Regions from separate parts of the Homo sapiens genome. Here regions 1, 3, 4 and 5 are each linked to region 2. The links are contacts of gene promoters, found by promoter capture Hi-C in blood cells and fetal thymus (Javierre and others, 2016). All regions are on one chromosome and are shown on one strand. The core of a region is centred on a gene start or on the middle of the fragment in contact, and the rest is flanking DNA. Distances in the headings are between cores, read along the strand shown. Region 1 overlaps ADK (adenosine kinase). Region 2 holds the start of ADK-AS1 (ADK antisense RNA 1). Region 3 overlaps KAT6B (lysine acetyltransferase 6B). Region 4 overlaps KAT6B (lysine acetyltransferase 6B). Region 5 overlaps KAT6B (lysine acetyltransferase 6B).

The links. Contacts are between HindIII fragments. The CHiCAGO score rates a contact against its expected background, and 5 or more counts as called.
Region 1: a fragment that was not itself captured here is called in contact with the fragment with the promoter of ADK-AS1 in region 2 in 3 of 17 cell types (M2 macrophages, M1 macrophages and M0 macrophages); the score reaches 6.4 in M2 macrophages.
Region 3: a contact is called between a fragment that was not itself captured here and the fragment with the promoter of ADK-AS1 in region 2, in 1 of 17 cell types (fetal thymus). The highest score is 6.1, in fetal thymus.
Region 4: a fragment that was not itself captured here is called in contact with the fragment with the promoter of ADK-AS1 in region 2 in 1 of 17 cell types (activated CD4 T cells); the score reaches 5.1 in activated CD4 T cells.
Region 5: a contact is called between a fragment that was not itself captured here and the fragment with the promoter of ADK-AS1 in region 2, in 1 of 17 cell types (total B cells). The highest score is 5.1, in total B cells.

The regions. Positions count from the first base shown.
Region 1 is chr10:74,265,996-74,268,695 of GRCh38, forward strand. The region is part of intron 3 of ADK (adenosine kinase); the gene reads left to right. Among named protein-coding and RNA genes, the nearest start is that of ADK, 120 kb to the left of the region's middle. The HindIII fragment of the contact is 781 bases long and covers 881-1,661 here.
Region 2 is chr10:74,528,046-74,530,745 of GRCh38, forward strand. ADK-AS1 (ADK antisense RNA 1) reads right to left here and starts at 1,279. Exons shown (of 5, transcript NR_120673.1): 1 at 1,248-1,279. All of the region lies in intron 7 of ADK (adenosine kinase), which reads left to right. It also overlaps the pseudogene MRPL35P3. The HindIII fragment of the contact is 4,742 bases long and covers 1-2,700 here.
Region 3 is chr10:75,002,404-75,005,103 of GRCh38, forward strand. The region is part of intron 13 of KAT6B (lysine acetyltransferase 6B); the gene reads left to right. Among named protein-coding and RNA genes, the nearest start is that of SNORD172, 18 kb to the right of the region's middle. The HindIII fragment of the contact is 190 bases long and covers 1,283-1,472 here.
Region 4 is chr10:74,980,092-74,982,791 of GRCh38, forward strand. It overlaps KAT6B (lysine acetyltransferase 6B), which reads left to right. Exons shown (of 18, transcript NM_012330.4): 11 at 1,696-1,837. Among named protein-coding and RNA genes, the nearest start is that of SNORD172, 40 kb to the right of the region's middle. RefSeq lists an enhancer at 2,463-2,512. The HindIII fragment of the contact is 634 bases long and covers 1,070-1,703 here.
Region 5 is chr10:75,029,118-75,031,850 of GRCh38, forward strand. It overlaps KAT6B (lysine acetyltransferase 6B), which reads left to right. Exons shown (of 18, transcript NM_012330.4): 18 at 1-2,733. The coding sequence ends at 1,929. Among named protein-coding and RNA genes, the nearest start is that of SNORD172, 8.8 kb to the left of the region's middle. RefSeq lists an enhancer at 1,008-1,507. The HindIII fragment of the contact is 2,870 bases long and covers 49-2,733 here.

The DNA.
Region 1 (2,700 bases), core at 21-2,520, 260 kb before region 2:
AGTAATGGGACAATTGCAGAGAGAGGGATGAGAGAAGGAGACTTAAGGATGATGTGTTGATGTGTATGTATATATAAATGAGACATAAATGACTTTTGGAAGGATTACTAAAGAAAAACAGCAATAGAAGAAGACTAGCCTATGTCCAGCAGCAAAAGGAAGTAGAAGACAGTGAGTCAGATAGTGACCAGTACAGGACGCTAGGTGGTGCCATTAGTCTTAGACTGCTTATTTGAAGTCTCTGGAGGCTCAGTAACCTCAGAATAGAAAGATCGAAAGGCGGCCGGGCACAGTGGCTCACGCCTGTAATCTCAGCACCTTGGGAGGCCGAGGTGGGTGGATCACGAGGTCAGCAATTCAAGACCAGCCCGGCCAACATGATGAAACCCCGTCTCTACTAAAAATACAAAAATTAGCCTGGCGTGGTGGCGGGCACCTGTAATCCCAGCTACTCAGGAGGCTGAGGCAGAGAATTGCTTGAACCGGGGAAGGAGAGGTTGCTGTGATCGGAGATCGCGCCACTGCACTCCAGCCTGGGTGACAGAGCAGGACTCTGCTTCAAAAAAAAGAAAAAAAGAAGAAAAAAAAAGGCACTGCTTGTATAGTAAATGAGCGAATTGTCTTATTGAGTATAACCCATAGTATATTATAGTTCTTGATATTTTCTTCTCCAGTGATCATTTTGAAAAATTTTCTGGAATTTGCATTGTAAAGAAGTTTGTCCACCAAATAAACTGTGTTTTAAAAGTAATAGTTCATTTCTTTCTAATTTTAAAGGTTGTATATAAAAAGGTATTTTCATTTAAAATTCATATTAAAAAAGATAATTGAAATTTTCATATTGAAATTATATAATCAGAAGGAACTTGGTGTTTTAATAAGCTTTAGTGGCCTTTTCCTAGGTCAATGTACAATTCCACTGAATTTTTTTGAAATACATATCCATGGGTTCCACATTGGTGGATTAAACCGTGGAAAGAAAATATTAGGGAAAAAGAAATTGCCTGTGTACAGAGCATGTACACATTTTTCCTTGTCAATATTCCCTAAACAATATGACAAAAGTTTACATACATTTCCATTGTATTAGATATTGTTAGTAATCTAGAGATGATTTAAAGTTTGGGGAGGATGTATGCAGGTTATATGCAAATACAGTTGACCCTCAAACAGCACAGGTTTGAACTGCATGCACCTACTTATATTAGTTTTTTTCCAGTAAATACAGTTGGCCCTCTATATGGGTTGGTTTGGCATCTACAAGCAAAAATGGATGGAAAATACAGTATTCAAGGAATGTGAAAGTTGTGTATATGGAGAGAAGGGCCAACTTTTTGGATCTATGGGTTCAACAGGGCCAACTGTGGTACTTTAGTATGTGTGCATTTTGGTATCCAAGTTGGGTCCTGGATCCCTCAAAGATACTGAGGAATGACTGTATTGAAGATGATTCCTTGATTCCTGTTACATTTTTTTTTAAGATTCCAGATTGGGAATAATTAAGTGCATTATTTGATTTCTGGAGATGAGTTACACCATTAAATTTTTGTTGATATGTGTATCGTGCAGGTGACAGAAACCCTAACTCATACTGGCTTAAGTAAATGGAAATTATTGGATCACATATCTAAAAAGATGTTGGTATGGCTGATTTTAGGTGAAGCTTGATGCAGAGGTTCAAATAATTTTATTTGGACCCTCTTCACCTCATCTTCTAGAGGTAGGGTACTGCCATCAGCTATTGGCTTATATCCTTATTTGTGTGTGTGTGTGTGTGTGTGTGTGTGTGTGTGTGTGTCTGTCTGTCTGTTTTAGTGGCTCTAAAAACAGGTGTAGGATTATGTCATATTAGGCCTCTTTGGCTTGTTTGGGTTCCATATCTACTCTGCAACTGGAGATAGAGTTAACACTGCTGGAAATTTATGGATTAAGAGTGTTGAAGGGATGATTCCCCAAAGAAAATTTGGATCTTATTAGGGAAATAAAGAATGGTTGTAAAATTGCACTTATTTCTTTAAGGAAGTCATCTTAAAGCTGTTTTTCTTTGCCAGGTATGGTGGCTCACACCTGTAATCCCAGCACTTTGGGAGGCTGTGGTGGGAGGTTCACTTGAAGCCAGGAGTTTGAGACCGCTCTGGGCAGCATAATGAGATCCCATTTCTACAAAATATTTAAAAGTTAGCCAGAGATAGTGGCATGAACCTGTAGTTCTAGCTACCCAGGAGACTGAGGCAGGAGGATTGCTTGAGCCCAGGAGTTCGAGGCTGCAGCTCGATTGCGCCACTGCACTCCAGCCTAAGCAACAGAGCAAGTCACCATATCTTTAAGAAACAGCAACACCCCCCAACACATGAAAAACTTTTTTTTTTTTTTGGCTAAGCTGTTCTTACACTATTGATTTTATTTCACTAGAATTTGTTTTTACTTTAATCTCATTTGTGCTACTTATTAGTTGTGTGACTTCTCAGAGTCCATTTCCTCACTGGCAAAATTGTTGATACAACTATTGATATAGTTATGGTGATGATAAAATAAGATAATGTGTGTGAAATACCTAGCCTAGTGCCTGGCATATATTAGATATTACAGAAATGTTAGTCCACTTGTAAGCATGGTTATTACCCAGACATGTTTGGATTTTATCAGTCTTTGCTATATGTTTTAAATTAGCCTATAATCTGTAAGTATCACAGATGTTGT
Region 2 (2,700 bases), core at 29-2,528:
AAACTCTTAAGATAAAATGACGACGTCCTTCTGGAAGAGGTGAAACTGGTATGTCCATGATCCTTATCAGAAGTGTCATGATCGAACAAACCTGAAAGTATAGATCAGAAGTTTCACTTGTTTCTCAGTTATTGAATATGTATCTTTGTGTACATATCTGCAAAAATGGATAAGTAAAAATCTCGATGTAAATTGTATCAATGAATATGTAAACATACAGTGACAACACTGAACTTATAAAAGTTTTAAAACTTAAAAAAAAAGCTCAAATTTGTAAAAGACATGTAAAAAGAAGGTGGAAAATGTATTTAGAATCAGGGAATGATGCTAAAAGTTTGGTAGAGACAAAAGAGAAAAGAAAGTCCCAAAAGTGGTTTAAGTTTGCAGCAGATGCTGATGATATCAAAACAATCTTCACTTAAAAAAAAAAAAAAGACTCCAAAGTACAAGCAACAAATGGAAAAAATAGATAAATTAGACATCATCAAAATTAACAATTTTTGGGCATCGAAGGACACTAACAAGAATGTGAAAAGACAACTAGTGGAATGGGAGTTAATATTTGCAAATCATATATCTGATAAAGGATTCATATTCAGAATATTTAACACAGTAACAACTCAACAATAAGCAAACTAACAACATAATTCAATAATGATCAAAGGAATTTAATAAACATTTATTCGAAGAAGATATACAGATGGCCAGTAAACACATGAAAAGATGCTCAACATAACCATTCAAGAAGTGCAAATCAAAACCAAAATTAGATACCACTTCACACCCATCAGAATGACAATTGTTTTAAAAAATGGAAATTAACAAGTATTGGTGAAGATGTGGAGAAATTGGAAACACTTGTGTATTGCTGGTGGGAATGTAAAATGGGAATGTAGAAGACAATTTGGTGGTTCCTCAAAATGTTAAACATAGAATTATTACCATATGATCTAGCAGTTCTACTTCTAGGTATATTACCCAAAATAACTGAAAGCAGGGACTCAGATAATTGTACACCAATGTCCATAGCAGCATTATTCACAATAGCTAAGATAGAAGCAAATCAAATATTCATCAACAGATGAATAAACAAAATTTCATGTATATATACAATGGAGTATTATTTAGCCTTAAATAAAATTTTGATACATGCTACAACATGAATGAATTTTGGAAATACTATGTTAAGTAAAATAAGCCAGACACATCAGACAATTATTGGATTTTCTAAGAAGAATTCCACTTACAAGAAGTATCTAGAATAGGCAAATTCATAGAGACACATAGTAGGATAGTGATTACCTGGGAGTGGGGTGGGGAGGAATGAGGCATTATTGTGTAATAAGTACAGAGCTTCTGTTTGGGATGATGAAAAAGTTCTGGAAATGGATAGTGGTGATAGTTGCGCCACACTGTGAATGTATTTAGTGCCAATGAATTGCATACTTAAAATGGAAAATTTTATCATATGTATAGTTTACCACAATTTTTTTGAAAAAGTTTTATTCTACAAATCAGTAAACTTAAAAGTTGGATCACAGCTTAGCATAGATTATTAAAGGAATTATTTTTCCCCACCTAGAAGAGGAAGTGGTAAAACTGTAAGCTGCTACGTGGCTGTAAGTCATGGGGCAAGAAAATCTTTTCTCTTTTGGTATGATTATTGTTCATTTGAATTCGCTTCAAGAGGTATTTATATAGTACCTAAGTACCTATTATGGCAGACCAATAAGCAGTGGATACATAGTATATTTTAGAACATCTGTCATTACGTGGACTATAGAATAATAAAGATTGGCTATAAGACAATTAGAGGTATTTGGTATTTTATTGAAGCAGTCTCAAAAGGTCTGTTGATAAATAAATTGATTTCTAGGGGTACGCCTCAGTGTTTACCCTGCCTTTGCTTAAGTAAACAGTGATTTAGATAAAGCTATATTTGCATATAATTCAAATGCAAATAATACAACACCTTAATACATACTAGGTAAGTTGAAGGTCAAAATCAGATTTTTTTAAATGTTAGTAGACTCTAAATATCAGTTGAGTGATGAAATTTAATAGGGATAATAAAAATTATATCGTATTTGATTATAAAAAGCAAGTAGAGTAAAATGCTTTATCCCTTTAATCTCATCATCCATTGTTTTTCTCCTTGAATACTATAGTGATAATGTTATCTTCAGTTTTCCAGGAAAAAAGAGACATTTTACTTCTAAAATGTGACGAAGGATAAAATATAGTTATCAGAGAATATACGTAGGATTCTTTAATATTTCCCCCCTCAAAAAAATAAAGTATACTGTGTTTAGTATAAATTTTTAAAATGTCAAAACTCAGCTAAAATCAAACACACTTGGCCCTTATTTTCTACATGTCACCTTCCTCTTGTCAGAGGATTGTACAGTAGTAATGATGATTTAAAACTTCTGATAGCCTCAATATTTAAAAAAAATAATACCTTGTCCACAAAGATTATTTCTTCACAGGCAATGATCAATGATCCCTGTGAGACAAGAAATAAATAAGATAAACCTGATGATTACCCCAGCTAACTCCTTGGAGATAATTTCCAGGCAACAGAAGAAAGGTAACTAAGGCCAAGCACAGTGGCTCACGCCTGTAATACCAGCACTTTGGGAGGCTGAAGCGAGTGGATCCTTTGAGGTCAGGAGTTCAAGACCAGCCTGGCCAACATGG
Region 3 (2,700 bases), core at 128-2,627, 470 kb after region 2:
GCTAAGCAAGTGCAGAGTCATTTATAAACTTGCATAGGTCTTTTATATACAGTCATTTATCATTTAAAAACTGAGATTCATTTTGAGAAATGCACCATTAGGCAACTTCATTGTCGTGTGAACATCATAGTGTATGTACTTAGACAGACCTAAGTCGAAGTCTATAGGTTACTACACACCTAGGCTATGTGGCATAGCTGATTGCTCCTAGGTGACCAACCTGGACAGCAGTTACTGTACTGGATACCGTAGGTGTTAGTGGTTGTAACATAATGGTATTTTTGTATCTAAACATATCTAAATATAGAAAAGGTACAGTAAAAATATGCTGTTATAATCTTATGGGACTACCATTGAATATGTGGTCCATCGTTGACCTAAACATCATTATGTGGTGCATGACTGTATTTATTGTTGATTGCCCATGTCTTTCACCAAAAGTAAGCTTCATGAGAGTGTGGACTTTGCTCTTTGCTGCATTCTGATCTTCTAGAAGAGCCTGGCGCTTAGTAGGTTCTTATTAATTGTTGAACAAATGTTAAATTAATTATGACGGGAAGAACTTTTAAAATGTGCTTTCCCTTCTAGTGTGTGATTCTTAGGGACAATTTTATTTTATTAGAACATAAACCATCAGCACTGGTTTACTTACTTCCAAATGATGCTAGGTATGCCCTGTCTTCTTTCGAGGTCTGGTACTTTTGCTGAAATGCAGCCTCTATCTTAAGATCATTTCAGTTGCATCAGAAAGAAGATGTCACTGCCTGCTCTAAACCTTGGGCGGAGAAAGCAGAGCTGTGACATAATCCACATTTGTACATAGCAGGTTGAAGAGACACTTAAATCTTTTGCTTACTTTTTCTCTTATCAGATAATTCATTTCTTGATTGCATTTATTTTTGAAAGGAAAATACCAGCTTTAGCCATAAGAAGCTGTCAAGAAAGCTTCTCTTTGCTTAGCCTTCCCAGCAGCTACGCTCCTGGGTGAGTGCAGTCAAGGCAATCATTAAAGAATAATAAGTTATGCTTTTGAAATGGTGCTCAAGTACTTCATAGCCTTTTCTAAGATAAGGAGCCTCCCACCTTTGCCCCCATGACACTTGTTGGAAAATACTGGACCAGCAGCTATATCCTTGGGCTTTTGCTGGGTTTTGGAAGACACATTTTGACCTATGTAATCAAGTATAATGATGACATTTATTTTAATAGGATTCTAGTCTGTAATATAATAAGGAAAATGGCTATTTTTCCTTATTTTCTCATTATAATATGTTACACTAAAAGCTTCTGCCATTACTGTTTTATTATATTGGTCTGAGGTACAATATATTTTAATATGCTAAAGATAACATCAAGGTTGAAAATTGAGCTCTCAGTGATTTATTCAGAGGTTGACTGTTGCTGAATGCATTGAAATGAGTTGCATGAGACAGTGCGGCTAACGATTTATTTGTGTATCTTTTTTTAAGCTAAGCTTGTCATAAATAAGAGCAAATAAATAGCTCTTATAGAATAGTTTGTATTCATTGCCTCAATGAAAACATTGTAAATATGAAACATACGGTCTGCAGTCTCTCTCATTTTTTCTGAAAGCTAGTGTTTTGCCTTACATAGCTCAGAATTTTTTCAAGTTTTGGCATGCAGGTGGTTGGTTTTTTTTTTTTACCAAACAAATTTTTTGTCTGTTTGGATTTCTAACGTTGACTGGCATTTGCATTGAGTTATTTTGAAATCCACTACTGGACAAATTCCATTCAAATAATTGGTATGAGAATAACCTAATCTTCAGCAGAACTGGAACAAAATGAAACCTTAGTGGGACCATCAAGAGGGCAGGAACTTGGTCATTGCTAAACTCCAAGCCATGAGCACAGTGCCTAGCACATAGAGGATACAGAATAAAGGATTGTTGGGGGAAATCAATGAATGCCTGAGTCTAGTTAATCCACTTCTTTGTATGACTGTCAACACCTGCCAGATGCATCCAGCTAGCTTTTGACCAGTAGTGCTTAAACTCAGATCTCCTCTCAGTCTTTGTTTTTTACACTTTATTTATCCCTTCATCCCATCCTTCAGCAAACATGCTTTAAATACACTGTGCCAGGGATGGTCTAGGTGATGAGGACATAAGGATGAATGATTTAGTCCTTGCCCATAGGGAAGTAGAGGGTCAGACACAAAATTCTTCCCAGTCCTGCAATTTCAAATTTCAGAGAGGCTGTGGCAGTGCAGAGGAGGAAATGCTTCCAACTCTATTTTCCATTTACCCAGTTAAGATATATAGAAGAGACGCATTTTTCCTTGCTTTTCTTTTTAAAGACTGGGTCTCACTCTGTCACCCAGGCTGGAGTACAGTGGCGTGATCATAGCTCACTGCAGCATTGAATTCCTGAGCTAAAGTGATCCTCCCATGTCAGCCTCCCAAGTAGCTGGGATTACAGGCACATGCCACCATTCCTGGCCATTTTTCAGGGGGAGGGGTGGGGGGTCAGCTAGAGACAGGCTCTTGCTTTGTTGCCCAGGCTGGTTTCCAACTCCTGGCTTCAAGTTATGCTCCTGCCTCGGCCTCCCAAGGCACTGGGATTACAGGTGTGAGCCACTATGCCCTGAGCTGTTGTTAAAACAAGATCAAGAAAGATTTTGCTCTGCTTGGTTGAAATTAGTGCTATACCTCATTTGGGTTTCAAGAGAACTATTCCC
Region 4 (2,700 bases), core at 137-2,636, 450 kb after region 2:
GAGGTTGCAGTAAGCCGAGATTGCACTACTGCACTCCAGCTCAGGTGACAGACCAAGATCCCATCTCAAAAAATAAAAAATAAAAAGGAGAAAATAATGGTATCCAAGTTTTTGTTTGTCTTGAACTCAAGATTAGCCTGTGAACGAATATATCCCAAAATGGGTACATTGAGAATAGATGTCTTCCATAAAGTATGTCAGGGTACACTTTACTAGTATCTTCAAAAATTTTTTAGTCTGCAAAGTTTTCAGTATTTATAAACTTGATTTTCTTATAGAATAGATCTTATTTTTTTTCGTTAGCATGTGAGTGTCTGGCCAATCACGTAACTGGAGAAAATGCTAAGTGTTTTCTAAAAGTTAAGTGACAAAATAAGAGTCAAGAATTTTGGTTTCTCCTTCCTTATACCATTTGGTTGTGTGTTCTTGAACAATTTTAAAAGACTATGAGCTTTAATTTGCATAGGTAATGATAAGCCATGTGCTCTGAAAGATTTGAATAAAATTTGTACATAAGTGCAAGATTTGAAAGTAGTCTCACCTGTGTCTGCCTCTCTCTTGAAAACCTTTTTCCCCATTCTTATACTCCAAAGACCTTGCAAGTGCTTCTAAACATTTTCTTATAAATACCAGCCATGTTCATTAAGATATGGAAATAAAAAATGTTCTGATTTTTAAGGTGGAGAAAAAGTCAGCAGGGAAGAGAGGTGTTTGTCTTTTACTCAAAGTAACAGTGGAATTGGTAGAAAACAAATTAGGTCTTTTGATTTTCAGCCGTGCTATTTACTGCATTTAGACCATATATAAATCTCTGATAATAACTTTAAAGTTACCTCTTCCAGAGGTGGAAATGGTAACAACTAAGTTTGAGGACTTTTCAGCCTCATATGTATGCAGATTGTTTAAAATAATAAATTCACTTCTGAGTAAGATATTATATCTATACCACTAACCATATATAATTGGAAATAAGATAGTAAATGTGAATTTTGAAAAATATGCTTGGTCCCTTGACAGGATGATATCCTTATTAAGTTGATTTTTTAGGGTGGTGGTTCCACATCTGTAAAGCTTTCTTTATATAGGATATTTTTAAGGAAACAAATTATTTGTTCACAAAGTAAAGGGAGCACATATTATGGATTATATTAAAAAATAATGTATGGTTGTTTTTACATTCTGTCTTTACTATTGGCTGGCTTTCTTTCTTTCTTTCTTCCTTCCTTCCTTCCTTCCTTCCTTCCTTCCTTTCTTCCTTTCTTTCCTTTCTTTCCTTTCTTTCCTTTCTTTCTTTATTTTTTTGACGGTGTCTCACTCTGTTGCCCAGGCTGGAGCGCAGTGGTGCAATCTCGATTCACTGCAACCTCCGCCTCATGGGCTTAAGCGATCTTCCTGCCTCAGCCTCCCAAATAGCTGGGACCACAGGCATGTGCCACCACGCCCAGCTAATTTTTGCATTTTTAGTAGTGATGAGGTTTCACCATGTTGGCCAGGCTGGTCTCAAACTCCTGATCTCAGGTGATCTGCCTGCCTTAGCCTCCCAAAGTGCTGGAATTACAGGTGTGAGCCACTGCACCCAGCCTCCAATGTTATTATACAGCCTTTTTATGATGTAGAGAAAATTGAACAATATTTAATCTTCCCCCCAACAGTATAATCTATCTGATAGATTCTATGATTTTTAAACTTTAACAGATTACCAAAGCTTTACCTGTGTGAATTCTGTCTTAAATATATGAAAAGTAAAAATATTTTGCTAAGACACTCCAAGAAGTGTGGATGGTTTCATCCTCCAGCAAATGAAATTTACCGAAGGAAAGACCTTTCAGTATTTGAGGTAAGCGCGTGTAAATAAAAAAATTCAGCTTTTTGAAATCTAGTACTCCTAATTGTTGACTATGTGCTGATTTGTGTTTAGAAGGTACAAAGTATACTTAATTTTGGCACTGAAATTCAGACTGCCCTTTAAAACATCTCCATGTTTTGGAATGTTTATCTAACCATATTAAGCAACCATTTAGACTGATGAAGAATCCCTACTTCATCACATTAACATTTTTGTCTTCCCCAAAATCCCTGTCTACACTAGATATATTCACCATGAATTTATGATCTCCTCAGCTCTTTGTAAATTCTACTTTCTTTGGCAGGAGAAATGAGCTTTGTTCAGCAGCTCCAGCCAATGTCTGGCAGGTGCTCACTCTTCCAGGGAATTGAGCAGCTGTACATATCTCCTCAATACACAACCACCTGTGTTTCCATCCACTTCTTGGCAGTGTGGATAATCCTTTTGGTGAGACCCTAGCAGATGTTGGGACTCCCTCCCATCTGGGTAGATGGCCACCCCTGAAGAACTCTGCTGTTCACAGGAACCCCTTGTGGCCATATGTCTGTCATTGTGGGTTTCTTGAAGACATTTTGTATTTCCAGAATTGATTTCGTAGCAGGCCTTTGCCTCTATATAGTTGCATTGTTTAATTATGTATCTGTTGTCAGTTTCAGGGATTCCGTTAAGCTGAGTCAGTTTCACCTTGAGGAGACCATGCCTTTCTCACAGGTTACTGTCTGTCTGCAGGGCTTTTCACGTTTCTCCTTTATGCTCTTCCCTCCACTTGCACACTTCTGTTGTCTGCTGCATTTTCTCCTCTGTGACCCATTGTGGTGTGCATTGGTGCTCATTCCTAGGTGCTTGAAACAAGC
Region 5 (2,733 bases), core at 234-2,733, 500 kb after region 2:
AGCCACATGGAGTCTGCCGAAGTGGAGAAGGAAGAGCTGCCCAGAGAAAGCTTCAAAGAAGTACTGGAAAACCAGGAGACTTTTTTAGACCTTAATGTGCAGCCTGGTCACTCGAACCCAGAGGTCTTAATGGACTGTGGCGTCGACCTGACAGCTTCTTGTAACAGTGAGCCCAAGGAGCTTGCTGGGGACCCTGAAGCTGTACCCGAATCTGACGAGGAGCCACCCCCAGGAGAACAGGCACAGAAGCAGGACCAAAAGAACAGCAAGGAAGTCGATACAGAGTTCAAAGAGGGAAACCCAGCAACCATGGAAATCGACTCTGAGACTGTCCAGGCCGTTCAGTCTTTGACCCAGGAGAGCAGCGAACAGGACGACACCTTTCAGGATTGTGCCGAGACTCAAGAGGCCTGTAGAAGCCTACAGAACTACACCCGTGCAGACCAAAGTCCACAGATTGCCACCACGCTCGACGATTGCCAACAGTCGGACCACAGTAGCCCAGTTTCATCCGTCCACTCCCATCCTGGCCAGTCCGTACGTTCTGTCAACAGCCCAAGTGTCCCTGCTCTGGAAAACAGCTACGCCCAAATCAGCCCAGATCAAAGTGCCATCTCAGTGCCATCTCTGCAGAACATGGAAACCAGTCCCATGATGGATGTCCCATCAGTTTCAGATCATTCACAGCAAGTCGTAGACAGTGGATTTAGTGACCTGGGCAGTATCGAGAGCACAACTGAGAACTACGAAAACCCAAGCAGCTACGATTCTACTATGGGAGGCAGCATCTGTGGAAACGGCTCTTCACAGAACAGCTGCTCCTATAGCAACCTCACCTCCAGCAGTCTGACACAGAGCAGCTGTGCTGTCACCCAGCAGATGTCCAACATCAGCGGGAGCTGCAGCATGCTGCAGCAAACCAGCATCAGCTCCCCTCCGACCTGCAGCGTCAAGTCTCCTCAAGGCTGTGTGGTGGAGAGGCCTCCGAGCAGCAGCCAGCAGCTGGCTCAGTGCAGCATGGCTGCTAACTTCACCCCACCCATGCAGCTGGCTGAAATCCCCGAGACGAGCAACGCCAACATTGGCTTATACGAGCGAATGGGTCAGAGTGATTTTGGGGCTGGGCATTACCCGCAGCCGTCAGCCACCTTCAGCCTTGCCAAACTGCAGCAGTTAACTAATACACTTATTGATCATTCATTGCCTTACAGCCATTCCGCTGCTGTGACTTCCTATGCAAACAGTGCCTCTTTGTCCACACCATTAAGTAACACAGGGCTTGTTCAACTTTCTCAGTCTCCACACTCCGTCCCTGGGGGACCCCAAGCACAAGCTACCATGACCCCACCCCCCAACCTGACTCCTCCTCCAATGAATCTGCCGCCGCCTCTTTTGCAACGGAACATGGCTGCATCAAATATTGGCATCTCTCACAGCCAAAGACTGCAAACCCAGATTGCCAGCAAGGGCCACATCTCCATGAGAACCAAGTCAGCGTCTCTGTCACCAGCCGCTGCCACCCATCAGTCACAAATCTATGGGCGCTCCCAGACTGTAGCCATGCAGGGTCCTGCACGGACTTTAACGATGCAAAGAGGCATGAACATGAGTGTGAACCTGATGCCAGCGCCAGCCTACAATGTCAACTCTGTGAACATGAACATGAACACTCTCAACGCCATGAATGGGTACAGCATGTCCCAGCCAATGATGAACAGTGGCTACCACAGCAATCATGGCTATATGAATCAAACGCCCCAATACCCTATGCAGATGCAGATGGGCATGATGGGCACCCAGCCATATGCCCAGCAGCCAATGCAGACCCCACCCCACGGTAACATGATGTACACGGCCCCCGGACATCACGGCTACATGAACACAGGCATGTCCAAACAGTCTCTCAATGGCTCCTACATGAGAAGGTAGACAACGTGGGCAGTCCACAAAACCTACGGGGCATCACTATTGGATTGATCTGCACAAATACCTTTGAAGAGTACGATTTCAAAACCAGCAATTGGTGTGAATGCAAAAACATTTGTTGGCACCATTTATTTAAAAAAAAAAAAAGCTGTATGCAGCAGAAAGCCTTATACAAGTTGTTTTTCTTTTTTTCCTTTTTCTTTTTTTTGGTACCTTCATTTCTGTTACTTTTATATAAAATTCTCTGCAAAGGAAGGCCTCTCTTTGGACTACAATTTGGAGGCAGCCACTTGTTGTGCCTGCTTCTGTTAAACAATGTGGATATCAAGCCCCCCCAAATTATCTGTTTTAATATTGAACCTAGAGCTTTTTTTTTCCCTTCCCTGTCCACTCCATGTAAATGCCTTTAGCATTTCAGTTATTGTATATTTTGTTTAAGGTGACACTTCAGCATGCCGCTAATGTCTTTGTTAGTGACAGTGCATTTTGTAGTACTGTACAAGTGTTGTGCTAACAGTAAGCCATTTCTTAAGTTTTTTGCCTTGATTAGGGTGCCCTAATTTGAGGGTTTTAAAAAAAACTATATTTTTGTTAATTATAAAACTGTAAAGAGCTATAAAAGCTATTCCCATTTGGTTAGTCAAAAGGGTTTTATTGCTAAATGTTTGGTGTAAAGTTGAGACCCTTTTCCATTTTGGTGACAGATTTCTTTGGGGAAAAAAGGCAGCTTTCTGTTTTATAAATGCAGACTTCTGTTTATTGAATGAAGCATATCTCAGTGTTTATCTGTCAGGTTTTGAAACATTT